Linked DNA regions of Homo sapiens: region 1 is linked to region 2. Evidence: promoter capture Hi-C in 16 types of primary human blood cells and fetal thymus (Javierre and others, 2016). All regions are on one chromosome and are shown on one strand. The core of a region is centred on a gene start or on the middle of the fragment in contact, and the rest is flanking DNA. Distances in the headings are between cores, read along the strand shown.

Region 1 (5,613 bases), core at 2,897-5,396, 430 kb before region 2:
GCTTTTCCAGTTTGTTTATTTTCCGATGTTTAATGATATTGTCCATGCAAGGAACAGAACCCCAGCTCCTGCTAACAATTAAAGAGGTTTTCTAATTTAGGAGAGAATGTGATTTTTTCAAAAAGGGAGAAAACTTGCACAGGAAGTAAAGCAAATACTCCACATTGAGAACATGCATGCAGAAAAGCCTAGCGTCAAGAAGACCCTGACTGCCTGGTGAACATATGGAATGAAAACTGTTCAGGGCGGCTGACCCAACGAGGAGGCAACATCGGAGGAGGCTGGCAAACGTCTGCTGGACCTTACTGCACCGCTGCCACCACCAGACTGTTTCATGACTGTGGCTTGTATCTGTGACCCCAGACCTCACCATCCATAGGTCCAGATGGGCTCCCATCGGTGAAATGACCAGAATTCACTGTGCTTGTTTCTGTCTGCTGTAGGCTTACTCTGACTTGGAGGACCTCTTGGGAGTGCCCCGCGTGTGTTCGTGAACAGGACTGTCAGCGAGAGTCCCTCTCCCCACGCGGCTCTGCGCTGATGTCGTGCTGCCACAGTCACTCCAGGGTCACCTCGTTTGCTGGCCTGCCCTGTGGGAACGCTGCCACCCATACCCAGGGCGTTGCCTTTTGAAGACCCCAAAACTGCAGTGCCTGAGGCTCCAGAACAGGGCTGTTGGCCTCATGCCCTCAGCACACAGGAGCCTCCCTGTGTCCTGGGGTGTCCTCTCCACTCTGTCATATGCTGTCAACTGGACACCCTAGAGGACTGACCTCCCTGAGTCTCGCAGGGTAGTGAGGTGGGATGGGGGGTGAGGTATGTTTCTCTCTACTTCCCTTTCCTTCCATCCACTGCCAGTAGACATTTGTGCCCCACACTTTTCCAAACCCAGCAGACTAGGAAACGGTTGAGGCTAAAATTAGGATCCCTACTCCGTGTCCTCAGACCAGTGGTTCCCCACCTTGGCTGCGTATTAGAATCACCTAGGGAACTTTAAAAAAACTCTATTTCCTAGGCCATACCTCGAACCATGAAATCAGAATCTTTGGGCATCAGTAATTTTTAAGTCTCCCTGGGCAATTTCAACGTGCAGCCAAGGTTGAGAACCACTGCCTTAGAGGAAGGAAAGGAAGGAGGCAAGGAAGGGAGGAAGTAGGGGTGGTGGGAGGGAGGACAAGGCCAAAACTGGAAGCCCTTTCCCTGTGATGGAAGAAAACTGACGTGAGCCAGACCTGGTGCCACACCCCGGGACACACACCGAGAAAACCCAGTGAATCTTCTGCCAAGCCTGCCGGTGACTCGGGGTGCTGTTGTCAGTATCTTTTTTCAGCTGAGTCAACACATCGGGAGAGCCGAAGAAGACAAACACAGGGCGACTCGCCGCTGATGACTTTCCACTTCATACCTGGTGGCATCCGAGATGCCCAAAGGGAGGAGGCCTTGTCAGTGGCGACAGCGGAGACAGACAGAACCCTACACTTGATGGGATGTCGGGAGAGCGTCCAGTCTAGCCCTGTGTAGATTTCTGAACTACCCAAGACTGCTGGCCATCTGTCCCAAGAACAGGTGTGACCAGGAACCAGCCTCTGTTAGCTAGGAACACAGAGTCTGTTCATTCATTCATTCGTTCACTCACGCATTCGCCTAATCACAGCTCAGCATGGCAGAGCCGTGAGTAGGGGCCCTCAGATACCACATGCAGCTCGGCGCTTCCCAAGCTTTGTTTTTAGTTGAGGAATGCTGGGTTTAAGTGAAACCGTATGGAGGCATAAACAAATACAAGAGAGCCGCTCCAGCTAAAGCAGGGGAGGGGGCCCTGCGCCCGGCCCACTTGCCTCCCTTCCACTAAGGGGGCTTCACCAGATTCTCCTGTTTCAAGGAGAAATAGAGTTTGGAAACCTCTCATTTTATAAACGAGGACACTGAGGCACAAAGCAGGGTAGTTGGTGCCTTGCCTAAAGTCATACAGATTTCATGTAACAAATTGTGCTGGCTAGGTATGGGAGGATGCAGAGCTCACAGCACAGATGAATACCTCCATCGCAAAGGCTGAACCAAATGCCCCGTTAAATCAAGAGATCTGCCTCTCTCAGCTTTGTTTTCTGAAGAAATCCCTTCCCAGGGTTCTTCCCCAGCATGCGGCACTCAGGGAGAACCACAACCTTGTCCTCTAGGGCCCAGCAGGTGTAATGTTCAGTGGGCATGCGCTGGTGCAGCATACTGCCAGCATCCACGCCGGTGTCCTGGGGGTTTACCTGATTGTTAACTATTTTAAAGATCACACTTGGATCCCACTACCAATGTTTCCAAAGTACAAGTAAGAGCCGGACGCGGTGGCTTATGCCTGTAATCCCAGCACTCTGGGAGGCCAAGATGGGCAGATCATTTGAGGTCAGAAGTTCGAGACCAGCCTGGCCAACATGGTGAAACCCCGTCTCTACTAAAAATACAAAAATCAGCTGGATGTGATGGCAGGTGCCTGTAGTCCCAGCTACTCAAGAGGCTGAGGCAGGAGAATCACTTGAACCCGGGAGGTGGAGGTTGCCGTGAGCCAAGATAACACCACTGCACTCCAGCCTGGGCAATAGAGCGAGACTCCTTCTCAAAAAAATAAAAATAAAAGCAAAATGTGACTAAGAATCAGACAGTAACAGAAAATATCAGTAACAAAAGAGTCCACACCTGCCTTTCTCATTGCTATTATTTGATACCAGAACTACCTGAAATCTTTCAGAAAGAGGGAAGAGCATTCTTTTCCTGGGAGCTTTCTAGGTGCAGACTTCCGCTCATAGCTGACAGTGCACAATGGGCAAAGAGTGACCAGGCTGACTTCTTCTTCTTCTTCTTTTTTTTTTGAGATGGAGTTTTGCTCTTGTCGCCCAGGCTGGAGTGCAGTGGTGTGATCTTAGCTCACTGTAACCCACGCTTCCCGAGTTCAAGCGATTCTCCTGCCTCAGCCTCCCAAATAGCTGGGATTACAGGCACCCGCCAACACGCCCAGCTAATTTTTGTATTTTTAGCACAGACGGGGATTCACCATGTTGGCCAGGCTGGTCTCGAACTCCTGATCTCAGGTGATCCTCCTCAGCCTCCCAAAGTGTTGGGCTTACAGGCGTGAAACACCGCGCCTGGCCTATGCTGTCTTCTGGAGATGGACTGAAGGCCACACCAGGCCTCGGGACACAGCCTGAGGGCTTCAACCCCTGGGAAGGGATTTCTTCAGAAAACAAAGCTGAAAGAGGCAGGTCTCCTGATTTAACGGGGCATTTGGTTCAGCCTTTGCGATGGAGGTATTCACCTGTGCTGTGAGCTCTGCATCCTCCCCTACCTAACCAGCACAATTTGTTACATGAAATCTGTATGACTTTAGGCAAGGCACCAACCACCCTGCTTTGTGCCTCAGTGTCCTCGTTTATAAAATGAGAGGTTTCCAAACTCTATTTCTCCTTGAAACAGGAGAATCTGGTGAAGCCCCCTTAGTGGAAGGGAGTTCCATCCCTGCCCCTTCCACTTGCTGACAGTCTGCATGTGGCGGGGGCACGCGTTTCTCTAATCCACAGTGTACGTGTAGTGGGTGCTGTCCCCCCCAGGAACCACCCTTGGCTGAAGGGAGCCGTCTTGCCTGGGTTTCCCCCTCCCAGAGGGCACAAGGATCCCATCGCCTCAATGGGGGCACATCTTAAAAGGGCCACCCAAGCTTCAGCACACCAGCCTCGCTGCCGTTCAGCCTTTCCTGTGCCAGCCTGCCTTCATGACTCCCCAGCGGGGCTGCTCCGTGAGTGCTCCCAGTTACCCTGCATGCCGACAGCCCATGAGTGCTCCCAGTTACCCCGCACACCCAGAGCCTGCGTTTTGAGAACCTGGCCCAAAGCAGTACTCAACCACAAAACAGGGGCAGATTCCTACCTCTCGGCTACGGTGAGGGTTAAGTGAGCACACTGCTCACATGAAATTTCCTCTCCAACGCAGCGCCTGGACTATAGTAAATGAGCCATACATACTTGTTCATTTCCTCCCTCTCTCCATTCTTTCTTCCCCCAAGTGTGTTTATAGTCTTTATTGTGAGTGTTCTCTATCCTTGGAGAGAGACATCTGGCTCTCTGTTCATTGGCAGAACTGAAGTGATTGACACACTCTAAACCTAGTAAGTGTCTCATCCCTTTCTGACATACAATTGTTTATGTAGCTGTGCTCACTCCTCATACCAACACACACACACGCACACACACACACACGTACAGACACACACACGCACACACATGCCCACAAGTGGTATTGCCGAATCCTGCAGTCTTTGTAGTTTCACAAACATCCAAATCTTGACACCACTGCCACAACACACAGAGAACTGCTTGTGTGGAGACCTGTATGCCAGGTGCTGTGAGACATCCCAGGAGGGAGAAGCTCATTTTCCAATGATGGAATCAAGGAGGGCTTCATGAGAGAGGTGACATTTGTCATGGGCTTTGAAGGCTGCATAGAAATCCAGCAGGCAGAGGGGTGGGAGTGGCTTTCCAAGCCAAGGGAACTGTGGAGTTGGGAAAACACAAAGCATGTCTAGGCAAATCCTCCAGTCTAACTGAAGATAAAGCTTCAAGAGGAGGATGAGAGGGAGGAGCCAAGGGTGGGAAGGTAGTTTGTGACTTGACTGGGTGGGGCCTTGAGTGCCAAGCTGAGGCCAGAAGTAATGAGATTCTACTGACAATTTCTGAGAGGTGGAGGGAGAGCTTTTGGAAGGTCAGTCATGGAGATGATTGAATGAAAAAGATACTGAGGTCAGGCCAGACGCGGTGCCTCATGCCTGTAATCCCAGCACTTTGGGAGGCCAAGGTGGGTGGATCATATGAGGTGAGGAGTTCGAGACCAGCCTGGCCAACATGACAAAACCTTGTCTCTACTAAAAATAGAAAAGGTAACTGAGAGTGGTGGCACACACCTGTAGTCCCAGCTATTCGGGAGGCTGAGCTAGGAGAATCGCTTGAACCCAGGAGGCAGAAGTTCTAGTGAGCCGAGATCACGGTGCTGCACTCCATCCTGGGAGACAGAGCAAGACTCCATCTCAAAAAAAAAAAAAAAAAAAAAAAAAAAGGAAAGATACTGAGGTCAGAAAAACAGTGAGGAGGCCGTGGTAACAGACAGAGCTAGCAAGGACCCCCCTCCTGGAGAGGGGATTGGTAGACCAGGAGAACAGGAGGAGTCTCAGGATAAGAATGTGAGCATCCACCCCTTCCAGATCACCACTACCACGAAAACCTTCAGGGGCAGCTGTGCACATACCCCCAGCTCATCATCTGAGAACGGGTGCCAAGTGAACTCCATCTCCAGAAATTGTTTGGGGAAGTGAAAGAGGAAACCGAACTCAAAATAAGGGTGCCTGACTCACTGTCTCTCAGTGACCATGTGCAGAAAAATCCTCTGAGCCTGCCACCAGCCACCTCCTCTGTCCACACCTTACTTCACAGGAATTCAGACACCAAGAGGGAGTCCCACACACGAAACACCTGGAGACGTGAAGAAACAGACTCAGCCCTACCTCCCTCCTCCCTCGCTGCGAGGTCTTGGGCAATCACTGACATATTTCCGGGCCTCAGTTTTCTCATCTATAAAATGATA
Region 2 (5,356 bases), core at 1,814-4,313:
ACCTAATACAGAATAATTTCTTAAAAATGCATAGGCTGGCCAGGCGTCAGTGGCTCATGCCTGTAATCCCAGCACTTTGGGAGGCCGAGGTGAGCGGATCATGAGGTCACGAGTTCAAGACCAGCCTGGCCAACATGGTGAAACCCCGTCTCTACTAAAAATACAAAAATTAGCTGGGCATGGTGGCACGTTCCTGTAATCCCAGCTACTCAGGAGGCTGAGGCAAGAAAATTGCTTGAACCAGGACCCGGGAGGCGGAGGTTGCGGTGAGCCGAGATCGCACCACTGCACTCCAGCTTAGGCTACGGTGCAAGACTCCATCTCAAAAAAAAAAAAAAAAAAAAAAAATGCATAGGCTGGGCCAGGCGTGGTGGCTCACGCCTGTAATTCCAGCACTTTGGGAGGCCAAGGGGCCAAGGTGGGTAGATCATCTGAGGTCAGGAGTTTGAGACCAGCCAGGCCAACATGGTGAAACCCCATCTCCACTAAAAATAATTTAAAAAATGGGCAGGGCATGGTGGCGGGTGCCTGTTATCCCAGCTACTCAGGAGGCTGAGGCAGGAGAATTGCTTGAACCCAGGAGGCGGAGATTGCAGTGAGCCAAGATTGTGCCACTGCACTCCAGCCTGGGCGACAGAAAAAGACTCTGTCTCAAAAACAAGCAAACAAAAATGCAAAGGCTGGATGAATGAGGTAAGATATAATGTAAACAGTTTTCCTGGAGTGCAGCTGGTCACAACACATCTCTAAAATCTTGTCTAGCCTACGCTACTGTCCAGTGAGGTTAGTGCAGGCATCATACCCAGGCCCTGAAGGATCCCACTCTGTGACACCCTTGCCTCCTTCCAAGCCTCCTTTGAATCCACTGCTGATCTCCTCTGCCCAATAAAACCCCCCTTCTCAGGCCGGGCGCAGTGGCTCACGCCTGTAATCCCAGCATTTTGGGAGGCCGAAGCAGGCGGATCACCTGAGGTCGGGAGTTGGAGACCAGCCTGGCCAACATGGTGAAACCCCGCCTCTACTAAAAATACAAAATCAGCCGGGCGTGGCAGCGCATGCCTGTAATCCCAGCTACTCTGGAGGCTGAGGCAGGATAATCGCTTGAACCCCAGAGGCAGAGGCTGCGGTGAGCCGAGATCGCACCATTGCATTCCAGCCTGGGCAACAAGAGCGAAACTCCGTCTCAAATAAATAAATACATAAAAATAAATAACAAAAAACAAAAACCCTTCTCCACCAATCCCTGTCAGCAAGCAGCCCGCCTGCCTCCAGGAAAAGGAACTCAGCTTTCCTCTGGGCCAAGAATGCCATCCTTACGTGAAAAAATGCTTGCCATCACTTAAGGCCCATCTCAAGTGTCACCTGCAAATAATGCTTTCAGCCGACAGCCTCTTCTTTTCTCTGACACACCCCGCCCCCATCATTGCCCTTGTCTGTCTCCCGAGGGAGCTCAGGATGGCAAGGCCTAAGTCTGATGCACGTAAGTTCCTAACTCCACCCTGTACCTGGCTCAGGGCTCCCTGACAAGCCCCAGCAAATGTTTCCCTCACTTAATGAAGTTGGAGGCACACATCCCTCCCCGGCATTGCCCAGCTCTCTTCTATCACGTTCCCGTCCCTCACAAGGGCAGCCAACACTGCCCCTTGACCTGAGGCCCACCCTCGATCCCTCCCCTTGGGTACCTGGCTGACAGGGCCCCCAGGGTGGCGCCAGTAGCCTCCAGCCAGGCCTAGGCGGGGGAGCACCTGCTGGGTGTTTCTTAGCTTGCTCTCCCTCCCTCGCTTCGCTCCCCTCAGCCGCCGCCATCCGTGCCCGGCGCTCCGCGCAGCTGCGGCCCAGGCCCAGAGAAAAGGTGTATGTCTCCCTGGCAACCCATCACCACGCAACAGGGTCTCCCGGGATACGGCCCGGGATGCGCTGACGTCAGCGCGGAAGGCGCGAGCTCTCCGCCTGCTGGCACAGCGCCGAGCAGAGCAGACCGGCACGGGGGCGGCCTCCCGGCCCGCCGCCGGATAGCGCCTCCGCCCGCCGGAAAAGGGAGCCAGAAGCTGGCTGGCCAGGCGTGGGTGGGGGCTGCAGATCCCCTTTATATGGATGACGTCCTCCTTCCCCCCACCACCAGGGGCCCAGCACCTCTGGCAAGTCCTGACTGTCCACCGAGGAAGGGCGGGAGGACCTGCTCCAGCCTCGGAGGGTTCGAGCAGATCCCAAAGAGGATAGAGAGAGACCCCGAGGAAGTTCGATCCACTCCACAGCCCAAGCGGGGTCCGAGGACACTGAGAGGAAGGGGAAAGGCTGTTGAGCTGTGCCCCTACTTCTGCAGAGATCCCCATTTTCATCCAGTATTGCCGTATCATTTCTCGGCCCCTCCCCCACCTTCCAGAAGACCAGCGCCCACTGAGTGCTCTCCTCAACTCTAAAAGCCCCCATCCCACACATCACTGACCCTCGGGCCCCTGGGGCCATTCTGTGGCAGCCCACTTGCCACCTTCCTGCTCTGGATAAATTTTGCCTCAAAACCCTAGGGTGAAACCAAACAATGATAAATTCTGACTCTCCTTCCCGTTTCCCAGCCTACCCATTCCTCTTGGAAAGCACACTGAGTTCTTCCGCCATCACTGTCCCCCCCACCACCGCCACCCTGGACCCTTTGCAGGAGGGTTGCCTTCCTTCTCTCTTCCTGCTGCCTTCTTTCCTCTCGCCAGCCTCAGCTGGTCCACAGCTCTTTACTCTTCTTTTCTGACGAACTCATGATATTTTTTCTGATTTTCACCCCTGTCCCCTGAAGCCGTTTCCTGATGCCCTGTCTGGCCCCAGCCTGGTTCTCCCTGTTTCAGCCTGGTTCTTAATATCTAAGCCAGAGTAATTTTCCTTTTCCACCTAAGCACCCTACTGCTCAGCTTCCCATCATCTCCCAGATCACATCCATGATCCCTGGTCTCACCTCTGCGACTTGTCTGACAAGTCCATCGTCCTCCAGGCCCTTCACGCTGCCACAGAAACATTTTGCCCAGCACAGAAATCATAGGCATGCTGGCTGTGTTGATGCAGAGAACCAAAAGCCCAGAACCGCTCCAGGCTCAGCTCCCAGTTCTATTCCTGTTTTGGCTCCGGATGCTGAGCCAGTCCCCTCCCCATTTGGAACCTGTGCCTAGTCACATAAGGAGAACATTCCTGCCTCATGGCTCTGAGGAGGTGGGAACACCAGGGCTCAGCCAAGCTCTCTGGGACTCGGGGAGCTGAGGCCCATTCCCTAGACAGTGCCAACAGGCAATGTACATCACAACTGACCTTTAGCTGGAGCAGCCGTCTCTATCCCTGAGCCTCGGCCAGCTGTTGGTCCCCAGAAATGCTACCAACCAGAAGGAAAACAGGAGGTTACAGGCCATCCCTGGCCCCCAACTGGTACCTAACCAGGGCTCTCGAGGCCAGTCCTGAGGTCAGCCAAACTCACCCCTGACAAGAGAAGGTGATGACTTCCTGAACTCCAAGCCTTGATAGGGCCAGAGAGATCAGAGCAGTCAGCTGCTCCTCAGCTTCAAAAGCCACGAGGTTAACTTAGGACTACAAATCCCAGAATTCCTCAAGGGAAGTACAAATCTCAGCCAGTCTTAGCTCCAAAGAACATCAAGTACCAACCACACCAAGGCCTGTGTGACTGACCACCTGCCCTGAAGGTCCAGGACCCATCCCAAACCCAGTCCTGCCTTGCCTTATGCGTGGAGAAATCCACCACACCGGAGTAAAGGAAGCTGGCCGACCTCTGATGCACAGGACTACGGCCAGGCCCGGTGTGCATGGCCACCCACGGAAACCGAGGCCCAGGCAGGGGTCAGCACTGTGGGAAGGAAGCCCTGATGGCCTGCCTCTGGGTTCCTCTTTCCCTCCACAGAGTAGAGTGATTTGTTTTTGCTGAGTGGGGGCAGGACATTAAAACAACTGTAATAGGTGAGAGGTGATTCAGTGTTCACAGGTGCCCCAAACGGGACCTCAGTCCCCCTTCGCCGACTGACTGAAGAGGGGAGTCAATGTCCGACAAAAATTCTGTGGTAGGGTGCTTAGCCAGGACCGAAAGGCTACCTCTTTAAGAAGATGGGGACACGGCTGGGAGAAGCAGGTTCCCAGCACAGGGCCACTCCCAGGACTGTGAAGGCAGAGGTGTAGGCGGAGGGGAGTGTGTGTGTGGGCGCGCAAGGCCAGTCGCCGAGGGCTGGAGTGGTGGGGGCATCGGGCTGCCCAGCCCCTCCCGGGGCTGTGCGTCTCCGGCCACCCTGAGCAGTGGGCACACGGCAGCCAGCGGCGAGACCATGCGTCTGCCCTGCAAAACCCCAAGGCAGGCAGGCCGTGGGAGCGAACCGGAGTCGGTCTGGCCCCTTCCCTGCTCATTCCCGCTCCCTCCTGTTGCCTGGCCCGCCTCCCGGTGCAGGCTCCTCCCTCTCCCGACACCGGCCCCCTCCTCAAGGCCCCCACCCACCCGCGGCCCGCGCACCGGCGGCCGCAGCCCGACTCCCCAACCCGTACCCGGCCTCCGCCTCTTACCCTGACCCGCCGGGCTCCGAGAGCCGATACAGCCCATGGCCGGGCACCCAGGCACGCTAGCCTGCGCTCGGGGCGCGGGCCATCGCCTTGCAGAGGGTAGGGTCGCGGCCACACTGGGGAGGGGAGAGCCCGTGAGAGGGGAGGGGTGGGAGCCGCGCGTCCGCCGCCGCTCCCCGGAGAGGGAACCGGGCCGGTGACGTAAGCGCGGGGGCGTGACCGCCGCGTCACCACCCAAAGTAGGCGGGGCGCAGCGACGTCACAGCCACGCAGAGGCGGCCTGGACCGGGTTCGAAAATGCCGGTCCTCTCCTCCCAGAGCCGACTGCCACCTGAAGGCAGGGGCGGCGAACACTCACTAAGCCAGCCCAGTCACACTACACGGGGTCGCAAAACCTCCCTTCATGCATCCAGCCCCTTCATTTTACAGATGACACCTTCAAGCCATAAAGGGATTCTCCAGCTATAAACAACCCGAAACCCAAAAGCCTTCCCCACACAGGGGCTTGAATCATTCTGGTAGGAGAGCAGAGCCTAGCAAGGATGTCCTATCACTAATCTCCCTTTTCTCCGGACCAGGAAGGCACCTATCAAGCCCATCTGAGGGCCCAACCTTCCAGGAAACCTCAGATCCCTGCAATCATGGACAGGGGAAGAGGCAGGAGGGGTGCCAGGTTACAGGGAACAGCGCTACAGTACCAGCTCTGGGAAGGATCCCCACCTATAAACACCTTCTCTAGAGGGAGCAGGGCATAAAGCAGAAAGGCAGTGAGCTTAATTGAATTCATGTTTAATAATTACAGGCACCGTGCCCCCCCTTC

The links. Contacts are between HindIII fragments. The CHiCAGO score rates a contact against its expected background, and 5 or more counts as called.
Region 1: a fragment that was not itself captured here is called in contact with the fragment with the promoter of FAM131A in region 2 in 2 of 17 cell types (M1 macrophages and M0 macrophages); the score reaches 5.4 in M1 macrophages.

Annotation. Positions count from the first base shown.
Region 1 is chr3:184,765,712-184,771,324 of GRCh38, reverse strand. The region is part of intron 1 of LINC02069 (long intergenic non-protein coding RNA 2069); the gene reads left to right. Among named protein-coding and RNA genes, the nearest start is that of LINC02069, 4.6 kb to the left of the region's middle. The HindIII fragment of the contact is 894 bases long and covers 3,700-4,593 here.
Region 2 is chr3:184,335,307-184,340,662 of GRCh38, reverse strand. FAM131A (family with sequence similarity 131 member A) reads right to left here and starts at 3,063. Exons shown (of 6, transcript NM_144635.5): 1 at 2,945-3,063; 2 at 2,134-2,276. The coding sequence starts at 3,032. EIF4G1 (eukaryotic translation initiation factor 4 gamma 1) reads right to left here. Exons shown (of 33, transcript NM_198241.3): 33 at 5,310-5,356. RefSeq lists an enhancer at 1,910-2,521 and silencers at 4,320-4,389, 4,313-4,513, 4,430-4,859. The HindIII fragment of the contact is 18,780 bases long and covers 1-5,356 here.